Linked DNA regions of Homo sapiens: region 2 is linked to region 1. Evidence: promoter capture Hi-C in 16 types of primary human blood cells and fetal thymus (Javierre and others, 2016). All regions are on one chromosome and are shown on one strand. The core of a region is centred on a gene start or on the middle of the fragment in contact, and the rest is flanking DNA. Distances in the headings are between cores, read along the strand shown. Region 1 holds the start of DLST (dihydrolipoamide S-succinyltransferase). Region 2 has its middle 8.8 kb from the start of LINC01220.

Evidence for each region. The method cuts DNA at HindIII sites, captures the fragments that hold promoters and counts their contacts. A CHiCAGO score of 5 or more calls a contact.
Region 2: a contact is called between a fragment that was not itself captured here and the fragment with the promoter of DLST in region 1, in 2 of 17 cell types (erythroblasts and endothelial precursors). The highest score is 7.7, in erythroblasts.

What each region holds. Positions count from the first base shown.
Region 1 is chr14:74,878,334-74,884,790 of GRCh38, reverse strand. DLST (dihydrolipoamide S-succinyltransferase) reads right to left here and starts at 2,875. Exons shown (of 15, transcript NM_001933.5): 1 at 2,775-2,875; 2 at 2,167-2,200. The coding sequence starts at 2,837. RefSeq lists silencers at 2,531-2,860, 2,717-2,943. The HindIII fragment of the contact is 10,796 bases long and covers 218-6,457 here.
Region 2 is chr14:75,300,003-75,306,459 of GRCh38, reverse strand. No RefSeq gene overlaps it. Among named protein-coding and RNA genes, the nearest start is that of LINC01220, 8.8 kb to the right of the region's middle. RefSeq lists an enhancer at 2,072-2,241. The HindIII fragment of the contact is 1,746 bases long and covers 1,600-3,345 here.

The DNA.
Region 1 (6,457 bases), core at 1,626-4,125:
CTCTTATGCCCACCTCCTCACAAGCATCCCAAGATAGGTAAGCCAGTCACCTTTATGTCCAGCAGCCAATGACTATGCAGTGCAAATTCTAAGCATAGTATGTTTTTGAACTAGAATAGATGGCGGCTCACACTGATTTTGGGAACCTGGAGTCCAATTCAGAGTTCATCCTACAGCAAATTTCATTTGTACAGTGCTTTAGGGTTTATAAAAAGCTTTCCCATAATGACCTCATTTTGATTTTACAGTCTCACAACTCTCTGAAGTGGAACGACCATCTGCCATTATTCCCATTTCATATAAGTAGGACTTTTGGAGGTTAAGCGACTAGCCCAAGGTGAATCCCTGAGCCCAAATGCAAATCCCCAAGTGCAAGGCTCTTTCCATTGTCCTGCCCACCTATGAAGTGGAGAAAATGTTTACTGACATTGTTCAGGGTTCCCACTTGAAAAACATGTTTGTTATTGAGAGTCCACTACAAGCCGACATTGTGCTAGGGGCTTTATGTTCTCATAACTCTCAGGATAAAGTCCACACTTTACGCGATCCTGTACCGTCCAGCCCACTCTATCTTTCCTGCCAGACAGGCTTCTTCCCATGTCTATCACTGGTCAAGTCCTTTCCTGTCTGAAAACCTTTGCACAAGCAATTCCCTTTGCCTGGAATACATTTTCTTGGCTCTTTTATATTCAGGTCTCAGTTAAATGTCACTTCTTCAGGGAAGCCTTTACTGACATTCCCAACCTTCCCAAGCTGGTCTACATCATCCCACCCTCTCATCACACCCTTTAATTCCTCTCTCGTAGTAACCAAAATTTATGCCCTTGTCGGAGCATAAATGTATATTTGCTCTCTCTCTCCAGCTAGCCCATAAAATCTCGAGGCTAGAGTCTATCTATACCCCTGTTACCTAGAACAGTGGCTGGCATATAGTAAGCACTCAATAAATGATCTGTTGAGTCCATGAGTAAATGAGAACATGGTGGGTTAAGAGTTCAGGATGGGTCAGGTAGACCTGGCTTATCAACAGCTGGGTGGGTGACCATGGCCAAGGCTTTTAAGCTCTCTTGTCTTGGGTTATGCATTTGTAAAATAGAGAAAATACTTTTTACTGTTTTGAGATGATTAACTAAAAAATTCACAGAAAGCACTCATATAAATGCTTGGCACAAAGAAAGCCCACAACAAGGTCAACTCATTCAACAAATACTTAGGCTAGGCATATAACAGAAAAAAAGCTATGGATGACACTTTTTTCTTTTTAACTGCTAGGATAAAATCTAAACTCCTTCAGTCTCTATACCATCTTCTATCTCTTGCCACTCTCTCCCTTAACCAAAATACTCCGGCCAAATCACCTTTTTTCCAGCTCTTAAGTTCTGCCAACCTCTTTTCTTCCTCAGGGTCTTTGTGAATGCCATTCTCTTTCTCCTGGGCTTCACTGGGTTAGCTCCGTCACATTCTGCTAGCCATAACTTTTTTTTTTTTTTTTTTTTGAGATGGAGTCTCGCTCTGTCGCCCAGGCTGGAGTGCAGTGGCGCGAACTCGGCTCACTGCAAGCTCCGCCTCCCGGCTTCACGCCATTCTCGTGCCTCAGCCTCCCGAGGAGCTGGGACTACAGGCGCCTGCCACCACGCCCGGCTAATTTTTTGTATTTTTTAGTAGAGATGGGGTTTCACCGTGTTAACCAGGATGGTCTCGATCTCCTGACCTCGTGATCCGCCCGCCTCAGCCTCCCAGAGTGCTGGGATTACAGGCGTCAGCCACCGCGCCCGGCCATGGCCATAACTTTTAAGTCACCTCCTCAAAAAGGGCTCTTCTGTCCACCCTCGTTTCCTTCTCAGCAGTTACAAAAATTTGCCTTTGTTGGCTTGTTTAGCAACTGACACTATCCAACTAGCCTAGGAGCTCCACGAGGGCAAGAACTGTACACTTCTGTATCCACTCCTGTATCCCTAGCGTCTAGCACAGTGCCTAACACAGTAGAAACTCAACTACGAGCTAAATGAATAAGCGATAGCTCGTGATTATGTAGCATTGCGTCTCACTACTCTCTGAACCAAACTGTCTTTAAATATTATGAGAAACACAGGCACCCCCGAGTTCCTCACATACTGCTCTGCCCAGGAGGAGAGCATTTTAGGTGACGGTAAGGGCAGAACTTACCAGGCAGGGAACGTCTCCCTAGAGGGCAGTTCCCCTGTTGAGAAAGAAGACATTATCGACGTCACCCAAGATGAAAAAAAAACCCAGCTTTTTCTTTTAAGTACACGCTCAAAGCTGTCCCAGTGGTGGTGACAGGTGAATCTCGTAACTCCGAAGGTAAATGCAACACACCGTGCTGGCAGACCCAATCAACACGCTGGGCCTGCCAAACTATCTCAACTTCCCAACGGGACTCATTAATACCCACTGATTTTAACAGAGCAAGACGAGACGGGCGCCGAATCCCGCCGGAGGACTCCGCCGCGCCTCCTCCCTAACTCTGAGTCAAGTATCTGGACGGGCGCGGCTCCCCAGCTCCCGCGCGGAGGGTGGGGTACAGCAGGAAACGTTCCCCGCAGGCTGCCTGGAGAAGGCAGGGGGCCGCTGGGCTCCGCAAAACGGTCCCGAGGGCAACCACGGCCCCGGGCCGCCCAGCCCGCGCGGCCTCCGCGTCCCAGTGCCCTTGGTGCCCGGCCCGGCCGGCGCGCCGCGCCCCTGCCTTCCAGGCCGCCTCTCTGCCCGCCAACAGACTCCTCACCCGTCGGGGCCCCGGCTCGGCCAGACCGTACCTTCTGGAAGGCGGAGAGCGAGCGGCTGAACGCCCGAGACACACAGCGGGATCGGGACAGCATCACGGCGGAGGAGCCGAGGGCGGGCGGACACCGGATATAGGGCCGGACAACAACCGGAAGTGGGGCGGGCCGCAGTACCCGCCGCCCGACGAGGGGTGTTCGGAGCGAACCACTGGCAGGGGGTGGGCGCACGGCGGCGCCCAGTATCCCGGCTGCAGCGCAGGAGTCCCGCTCTCTGGAGCAGGCAACCCTAAGGCGCTCTTGGGGCCCTCCGCACTGCCTGTCAGCCTGAGGTGGTTCTCCTGAAGGTGTATACGACTGTCCCGCCACCACATTGCCCCCGGGGTCAGGCCTTCCCCTACCCTTCCACAGAACTGGCTCTGAGCTTGGCGCCCTTCTCTCTTGGGACCCGAGGGCACCGCGCCGTTCCGCCTCTGTACCTTGGGAAGAGAGCAAAAGAGGGGCACGGACATTGAACTGAAACCTTGGCAGACATGCATGCCTGATCTTACACTTGTGTGGCCTGGGGCAGATGACATTGCCCCCCACCCCCAGTCTCAGGTCCCTTAACTATTAAAAAAAAAAAAAAAGGCACTTGTTACTTCCCTGTCTTCCTAACCCCGAGTCAAAGAAACAGAATCCCAGGAATTTCTAAATCCCATTGCCTTTTTACGAGTCGGATATCTTCACCAACTATAGCCTTATTTCTCAACAGCTTCTGATCTCCCCCCAACGCAAATTCCAGCCAAACTAATTGTTCCCCATACATCTTGTGCATTTTGGAAGTTGTTCGTTTGTCACCCTATCCCTAGAATATAAACTCCCAGCTGTTTTTTTAAGAAACAAGGTCATAGTTCACTGGAGCCTCGACACTCTGGGCTCAAGCGATCCCTCTGCCTCAGCCTCTGGAGTAGCTGGGACTACAGGTGCCACCATGCCAGGCTGACCTCCCCACTTTGAGTGTGCCATTCTTCCCGCTGACTTGAAGTGAAAGCATATAGCATCCCCTTCCCCTCCTTAAGTATTCAGGCCCCTTGAGTATTCACCTTTAAGGCTCACCTTCCTAATGAAAAAGATGTGCTTTAAACCTCTGGCTGAATTAGTAACACATAAATGTATGAATGAATGAATGAACCACTTGGTGCCGTTCATGATGATTTCTTTATCTGAGGCATTTTGCCTGGCCCTCAGGACCTTTATTTTTTATTTTTCTAATTAATTTATGTTTTAATATAAATTGAGACGGGGTCTCACTATGTTGCCCAGGCTGGCCTCAAATTCCATCAGGACCTTTACAGTGCCTTCACTCACCTGAACCCTGAAAGCACTGCCACTGAAATTCTGGAAGGATGGGCCAAAGTCCTAACTAGAAATAGAGAAAACAGCTCTGCCCTGCTGCTACCCACAATTAACTCCTCAGTAGCTTTCACCTGAATTATTTGAAAAGCTCCCTAAGCAGTTCTAAGCCTCCGCTCTCGCTTTCTCTAGCCCATCATCCTTTATATCTGTGTCAAAGATCCTTCTGAGCCTGGTGTGGTAGCTCACGCCTGTAATCCCATCACTTTGGGAGGATGAGGTGGGTGGATCACTTGAGATCAGGAGTTCAAGACCAGCCTGGCCAACATGGTGAAACCCCATCTCTACTAAAAATACAGAAATTAGCTGGGTGTGGTAGTGAATGCCTGTAATCCCAGCTACTCGGGAGGCTGAGGCAAGAGAATTGCTTGAACCCAGGAGATGGAGGTTGCAGTGAGCCAAGATTGCACCACTGCACTCCAGCCTGAGCAACAGAGTGAGACTTCGTCTCAAAAAAAAAAAAAAAAAGAAAGTAAAGAAAAAAAAGAAATCCTTCTGAAATGCAAACCTAATCCTGTCACTCCTCTGATTAAAGTCTTTCATTGCTTCTCCTGGTCGGATAAAGCAAGGGAGATAAAGTTTATCTCCCTTGTAGGATAAAGTACAAACTCCTCAACTTGGCCAGGCACCTGATAATCAGGCCTCTGATTATGTTCTGATTCTCTCCCCACATTCTCACAGATTGTGAGCTTTAGTCAAACCACACTACTGGCCATAGCCTTGCTGAGCTATTTGCATGGGCTGTTTCCTCCTCCTATTTGCCTAGGAACTCCTAGTCATCCTTTAAATCTCCTTCTTAATCCCTTCCTAACCCCTCTGGCAGAGTTAACAGATACATTTTCTATGCTTCCAAAGCACTGTGTCTGGGTTTCTACATTGCATTTTATTGTAATGTCCTGTTTACCTGTCTGTCTCCCATGCTGCATAGAGCAGCAGGTGGAAAGAGACCACTCTCTATTTTCCTGAATTTTCCAAACACAACACCTGGGACATCAGAGTTCCTGGGACTCTGTAGGTACTCAATAAATATTTGTGGAATGACTAAATACTTCCATGTTTACAACATTGGTGGACACAGCTGAAGAATCCAAGAACGGTAGTCAGGGGCTATGGCAATTTCTTGCCAGTGTTGCTGTTAATATTTTTCTTAGATAGCTACCCAGTCCTTTCACGGTCTTTTTTTTTTTTTTTTTTTTTTTTTTTTTTTGAGATAGAGTCTTGCTCAGCTGCCCAGGCTGGAGTGCAGTGGCATGATCTCATCTTGGCTCACTGCAACCTCTGCCACTCGGGTTCAAGTGATTCTCCTGCCCCAGCCTCCCGAGTAGCTGGGACTGCAGGTGCGTGCCACCATGCCCAGCTAATTTCTGTATTTTTAGTAGAGACGGGGTGTCAGACAGGGTGTCACTGTATTTTTAGTAGAGACAGGGTGTTGGCCAGGATGGTCTCAAAATCTTGACCTCATGATCCGCCTGCCTTGGCCTCCCAAAGTGCTGGGATTACAGGCTTTCACAGTCTTTAACAATTTTTGAGATTCTTATAGAAGGTGTAGAGGCTTCAGGCTGGGCACGGTGGCTCACGCCTGTAATCCCAGCATTTTAGGAGGCTGAGGCAGGCGGATCACGAGGTCAAGAGATCAAGACCATCCTGGTTAACACGGTGAAACCCCGTCTCTACTAAAAATACAAAAAATTAGCCGGGCCTGGTGGCGGGTGCCTGTAGTCCCAGCTACTAGGGAGGCTGAGGCAGGAGAATGGCGTGAACCCGGGAGGTAGAGCTTGCAGTGAGCTGAGATCATGTCACTGCACTCCAGCCTGGGTGACAGAGCTAGACTCCGTCTCAAAAAAAAAAAGATGTAGAGGCTTCAAGACTTCAAGCCTGGTTATAATGTGGCAAAGCACTTCTGGAGTTTTAGTGATCACCCAAGTTAATCTTAGATATTACAGTCTAAAGACACCACACACACACACACACACACACACACACACACACTCGAGCATGGTTTCATACAAAATCCCATTGAGAGGGTAAAAGTTGAAATTGATTTCCTCGAGATTCACATACGAGCTTCCATGGACTCCAAGCTGCAACCCAATAAGCTAGGGCACTCCTTCATTTAGAGCTTCCCAAGACACAGCACCATCTACTGGGGCAAGAGTTTATGAATATAAATTGTGGCAGGGCTCAAAAGAGAATTTTTTTTTTTTTTTTGAGTGGAATCTCACTCTGTTGCCAGGCTGGAGTGCAGTGGCATGATCTTGGCTCACTGCAACCTCTGCCTCCTGGGTTCAAGCGATTCTCCTGCCTCAGCCTCATGAGTAGCTGGG
Region 2 (6,457 bases), core at 1,223-3,722, 420 kb before region 1:
CACGTGTAAATGAAGTTGGACACTTGCCTAACACCATATGCAAAGATTAACTCAAAATGCATCAAAGACCCAAATGTAAGGCCTAAAGCTGTAAAACTCACCGAAGGAAACACAGGAGATAAGCTTCACAACATTAGATTTGGCAATGATTTTTCTGGATATGACACTTTTATTGCATAAGCAATAAAAGAAAAAATAGACAAATTAGACTTCATGAAAATTTTTAAATTTTGTGCAAGAAAAGACACTAGCAACAGAGTGAAAAAGCAACCCACAAGATGAGATAAAACATTTGCAAATCATATAGCTGATAAAGGATTAATATCCAGAATATATAAAGAACTCCTAAAACTCAACAACAAAAAAGCAAACAACCCAGTTCAAAAATGGCCAAAGGACTTGAATAGACATTTCTCCAAAGAAGATATATAAATGGCTAATAAATAAGCACAAAAGATGTTCGACATCACTAGACATTAGGGAAATGGAAATCAAAACTACAGTGAGATACCACCTCACACCCATTAGGATGGCTACTATTAAAAAAAAACACACAAGACCATGCACAGTGGCTCACGCCTGTAATCCCAGCACTTTGGGAGGCCAAGGTGGGTGGATCACCTGAGGTTGGGAGTTCGAGACCAGCCTGACCAACATGGAGAAACCCCATCTCTACTAAAAATACAAGATTAGCTGGGCGTGGTGGTGTATGCCTGCAATCCCAGCTACTCAGGAGGCTGAGGCAGGAGAATTGCTTGAACCCAGGAGGCAGAGGTTGCAGTGAGCTGAGATCACGCCATTGCACTCTAGCCTGGGCAACGAGAGCAAAACTCCGTCTCAAAAACAAAAAACGAAAACACCACACTCACACACACAGGCTAGGTGCAGTAGCTCATGCCTGTAATCCCAACACTTTGCAAGGCTGAGGCAAGAGGATTGCTTGAGCCCAGGAGTTTGAGACCAGCCAAAGCAACATAGTGAGACCCCATCTCTACAAAAAAAAAAATTAAATTACATTACATTAAAATTAGCCAGGTGTGGTGGTCCATGCCTATAGTCCCAGCTACTCGGGAGGCTGAAGTGGGAGCATCGCTTGAGCCCAGGAGATCAAGGCTACAGTGAGCCATGAGCATACCACTGCACTCCAGCCTGGGCAACAGAGCAAGACTCTCTAAAAAAAATACACACACACACACACACACACACACACACACACACAGAGAGAGAGAAAAAATTACAAACTTTGTCAAGGATGTAGAGAAATTGGAACTCTATGCACTGTTGGTGAGAATGTAAAATGGCACAGCTGCTGTGGAAAACAGTGTGGGGGTTTCTTTTAAAATTAAAAATAAAATTACCATATGACCCCAAAATTCTACCCTGCGTATATACCCCCAAAAACTGAAAGCTGATCTCAAAGAGATATTTGTACACCCATGTTCATAGCAGCATTATTCATAATAGCTAAAATGTAGAAGCAACCCAAATGTCCATCAATGATGAATGGATAAGCAAAACGTGGTGTATATGTATAATGGAATATTATTCAGCCTTAAAAAGGAAAGACATTCCAACACATACTGCAGCCTGAATGAAGCTTGAGGCCATTATACTACGTGATACAAGCCAGTCAGAAAAGGATACCCACTGTATGATTCCACTTATATAAAGTCCCTTAAAATCATAGCAACAGAAAGTAAAATGGTGGATGCCAGGGGCTGGGGAGAGGGAAGAATAAGAAATTACTGTTTAATGGGTACAGGGTTTCAGTTTTAGGAGACAGAGTTCTAGAGACAGACAGATGGTGGGATGGTGGTGACAGCTGCACGACATTGTGAATGTATTTAATACCACTGACCTGGACACTTAAAAATGGTTAAGATGGCAAATGTTGTGTGTATTTTACCACCATATATAAAAAATAGGAAGAAAAAAAAAAAAGGAGGCCTGGTCACAGTGGCTCACACCTGTAATCCCAGCACTTTGGGAAGCCGAGGAAGGCAGAGTGTTTAGCCCAGGAGCTGGAGACAAGGTTTTGTACGAAACCATGTCTGTACAAAAAAATACAAAAATTAGGCAGGCATGGTGGCACACACTTATAGTCGCAGCCACCAGGCCCGATCAGAAAATTTATTCTTTTTTTTTTCTTCTTCTTTTTTGAGACAGTGTTGCTTCGTCACCCAGGCTGGAGTGCAATGGCACCATCTCGGCTCACTGCAACCTCCGACTCCCAAGTTCAAGTGGTTCTCCTGCCTCAGCCTCTCGAGTAGCTGGAATTACAGGCACCCGCCACTACACCCGGTTAATTTTTGTATTTTTAGTAGAGACAGGGTTTCACCATGTTGGCCAGGCTGGTCTTGAACTCCTGACCTCGTGATCCGCCCGCCTCGGACTCCCAAAGTGTTGGGATTATAGGCGTAAGCCACGACACCCACCCCAATTTATTCTTAAGAATACACTCTGCAGGCCGGGCGCGGTGGCTCATGCCTGTAATCCCAGCACTTTGGGAGGCAGAGGCGAGTGGGTGGCCTGAGCTCAGGAATTCGAGACCAGTCTGGGCAACATGGCAAAACCCTGTCTCTACAAAAAATAAAATTAAATTAAAATGAAGAATAAATGTACTAATGCTATCGGAATCCGTATGCCCATTTGCTTTTAGAGAAGATCCTATTCCCCAAGAGTGTGATGTGTTTTACAATTCATGCACGGTGTCTTTATCCCCTCGGTCGAAGATTGTCATATCCTTTAGTGGTCAAGAGGGGGCGCAGCGACTCAACCTAAAGCGTGGAAATCCCAGTGGCCTGTAGATCACAGATGCCGAAATGTGAAAGCCTTGGTCCTGGAATTAGCATTATGGACTTCACCTGGGAGATTGTTAGAGACGCAGAATCTCGATCCTACCCCAGATCTGCCTCAGAATTTGCACGTTAAGAAGATCCCCGGTCGAAGGACAGGCACAGAGGCTCAGGTCTGTAATCCCAGCACTTTGGGAGGCCAAGGCGGGTGGATCAGGAATTCCTGCTGGTCAGGAGTTCGACACACAGCCTGGCCAACATGGTGAAACCTCGTCTCTACTAAAAACACAAAAATTAGCCGGACGTGCTGGTGAGTGCCTGTACTCCCAGATACTTGGGAGGCTGAGGCAGGAGAATGGCTTGAACCCGGGAGGCGGAGGTGGCAGTGAGCCGAGATCACGCCACTGCACTCCAGCCTGGGCGACAGAGTGAGACTTGGTCTCAAAATAAAAAATAAAAATAAAAAAAAGAAGATCCCCGGGGTAATTTATAGACACATTAAAATTTGAGAAGTACTGGTTGAAAGTGTCTAGTCATAGAAAGGGAAGCTTCTTCCTCAAAGGAAAAGAGGGTAGGAAAGGAGCTGGCTAAGGCCTCCCTTGAAGCCCCCAAATGTCCTGTTCCTTCGACCAAGCAACCAACATCAATCAAGATGGAATTGGAGCCACAGGAGAGGGTGTAAAAGCATTTCATTGGTCATAAATGCATAGGCTTGGCCGGGCGCAGTGGTTCACGACTGTAATCTCAGCACTTTGGGAGGCCGAGACAGGCAGATCACTTGTGGTCAGAAGTTCGAGACCAGCCTGGGCAACATGGTGAAACCCCATCTCTACGAAAAATACAAAAATTAGCCAGATGTGGTAGCACGCACTTGTAATACCAGCTACTCAGGAGGCTGAGGCAGGAGAATCACTTGAACCAGGGAAGTGGAGGTTGCAGTGAGCCGAGATGGCACCACTGCACTCCAGCCTGGGGGACAAAGCAAGACTCCGTCTCAAAAAAAAAAAAAAAAGGCATAGGCTTTTTCCATTTCAATAAATGCTTATTGATTGCTTACTGTGTGCTGGGCATCAGGGATACAATTGTGAGCAAAAATCAGACCCTGTTCCTGCCCTCATGGAGCTTTCAGCCTAGTGGGGACACCAAGTGTGTGTAATCCCATAATCACACATAACTACAAACCTTGTCCTTGCTCTGCAGGTTCAGAGAGAGGGCCATGACAGAGTAAAGGGAAAGGGAGTGGGGATGAGGGGCTGCTTTATATGGAATGTTCAGAGAAATCCTCAGAAGAAGTCATCTTTTTGTTTTGTTTTGTTTTCAGAGTTGAGGTGTCACTTTGTCATCCAGGCTGGAGTAAAGTGGTGCCATCATGACTCATTGCAGCCTCCACCTCCAAGCCTCAAGCGATCCTCCCACCTCAGCCTCCCAGCTAGCTGGGACCACAGGTATGCACCACCACGCCTGGATAATTTTGTTTATCTTTTGTAGAGATGAGGTCTCACTGTGTTGCCCAGGCTGGTCTTGAACTCCTGAGCTCAAATGACCCTCCTGTCTCGGCCTCCAAAGTGCTGGGATTACAGGCATGAGCCACCAGGCCTGACCAGGAAGTGAGCTTTAAGCTAGAGATCTGAAGGATGTGTGGGAGTTAGCCAGGAAAGAGTAGAGTTCCTGTGCGGGGGGTGGCGGGGGAGGGGACAGAATGTACAAAGGTCACGCAACAGAGAGGAACATGCTTACTCAAGGAACTGAGAGAAGACAGGCATGGAGTGATGCAAGATGAGGCTGAGACAGAGGAGGGCAGGAAGGGGCAGCTCGATGGGGCCAGGGACCAGAGGACACAGGCTCACCCAGACCTGATTGAGGTAGCCCCCCAGTTCCCAAAGTGACTACTGCATGGTTCTGCCTCCCGGGGGCCCTGCACCAAATGGCCCATGTGGACATCTCACCTCTGTCCTTCCAGTTCCCATTCTCTTCCTATCCTCCCCTGCTCTCCCCGCTACTAATCCTTTCTTTACCTCGTCACCATCAGCTCCTCTATTGCTTATCCTCTTCTCGCTTGCCCTCCCCAGCATCTTCCTCATTCACCCTTTTTTTTTTTTTTTAAGGCAAGGTTTCACTCTGTTGCCCCCAGGTTGGAGTACAGTGGCATGATTGTGGCTCACTGCAGCCTCAAACTCCCAGGCTTAGTTGATCCTCCCAAGTAGCTGGGACTACAGGTGCATGCCACCATGCTGAGCTAATTTTTTTTGTATTTTCTGTAAAGATGGGGTTTCACCATGTTGCCTAGGCTGGTCTTGAACTGCTAAACTCAAGCGATCCACCAGCCTCGGTCTCCCAAAGTACTAGAATTACCAGCATGAGCCACTGCACCCAGCCTCATTTACCATCTCCACCTGCTCCCAACTTTTCCAGGAAATCGAACGTCAGTCTCCAAGCCTATCTTCCCCTGAAAAGAAGATAATCTTTAAGTCAGACACAACCAGCATTCATTGAGAGCTCACCATGTGCTGGGCCCGGCATCACTTTCCACATTTTTTTCATTTAACCCTCACAGCAATCTTATCCAATAGCTACTATCATTCCAGTTTTACACTTGAGGAAATCGAAGTGTAGAGACAGTAAGTAGTTTTCTCAAGATTACGCAGCTAGAAACTGGTTGAACCAATACTACCCTCCTGTGTGATAACAGGGACTGCACATTGTCCTGTTTGACAGCGTACTAACTGCACGACTACATTTCGAAAGCCTTAAAAATGTGCACACCCTTTGGCCCATTTCTGAAAAAGTCAACTTAGATGTGTACAGAGGTCCCTGCAGCATTTCTACAATAGCACAGAATTTGGAAACAACCCAAAGGTTCAACAATATAGGGTTGGTTAAATTGTGGGTCATTTAGAACTAGAAACCTATATAACCTTTTTTTTTTTTTTTTTTTTTTTGAGACAGAGTCTCGCACTGTCGCCCAGGCTGGAGTGCAATGACACGATCTTGGCTCACTGCAACCTCCGCCTCCCAGGTTCAAGCAATTCTCCTGCCTCAGCCTCCCAAGTAGCTAGGCTTACAGGCGCGTGCCACCACGCCGGGCTAATTTTTTGTATTTTTAGTAGAGACAGGGTTTCACGGTTGGCCAGGCTGGTCGCGAACTCCTGACCTCATGATCCACCCACCTGGGCCTCCCAAAGTGCTGGGATTATAGGCATGACCCACCACGCCCAGTCTCATGACTATTAAAGTGATCATGTAAAAAAAATTTGATGTCCATGAACTACCATGTAGAAGAAGCAAAATGACAATACTTGTAATTACAAGTATTACAGCATGGTCCTGTTTTTGCAAAAACTACAGTATGTGAATTGAAGTAGAAAACTAACATGCAGAGAGGATCCTTGCGGCCAGGAGTTTGACACCAGCCTGGCCAACATAGTGAGACCCCCCACACACACACCATCTCTATAAAAAATAAAAAATTAGCCCAGAGTGGTGGCATGTGCTTCTAGTCTCAGCTACTCAGGAGGCTGAAGTAGGAGGGTCACTTGAGCCCAGGAGTTGAAGGCTGCAGTGAGCTAGGACCGTGCCACTGCACTACTCCAGCCTGGGTGACAGAGCAATATTCTGTCCAAAAAATAAATAAAAAATGAAACTAGTGTGTGTATTGGAAAGGT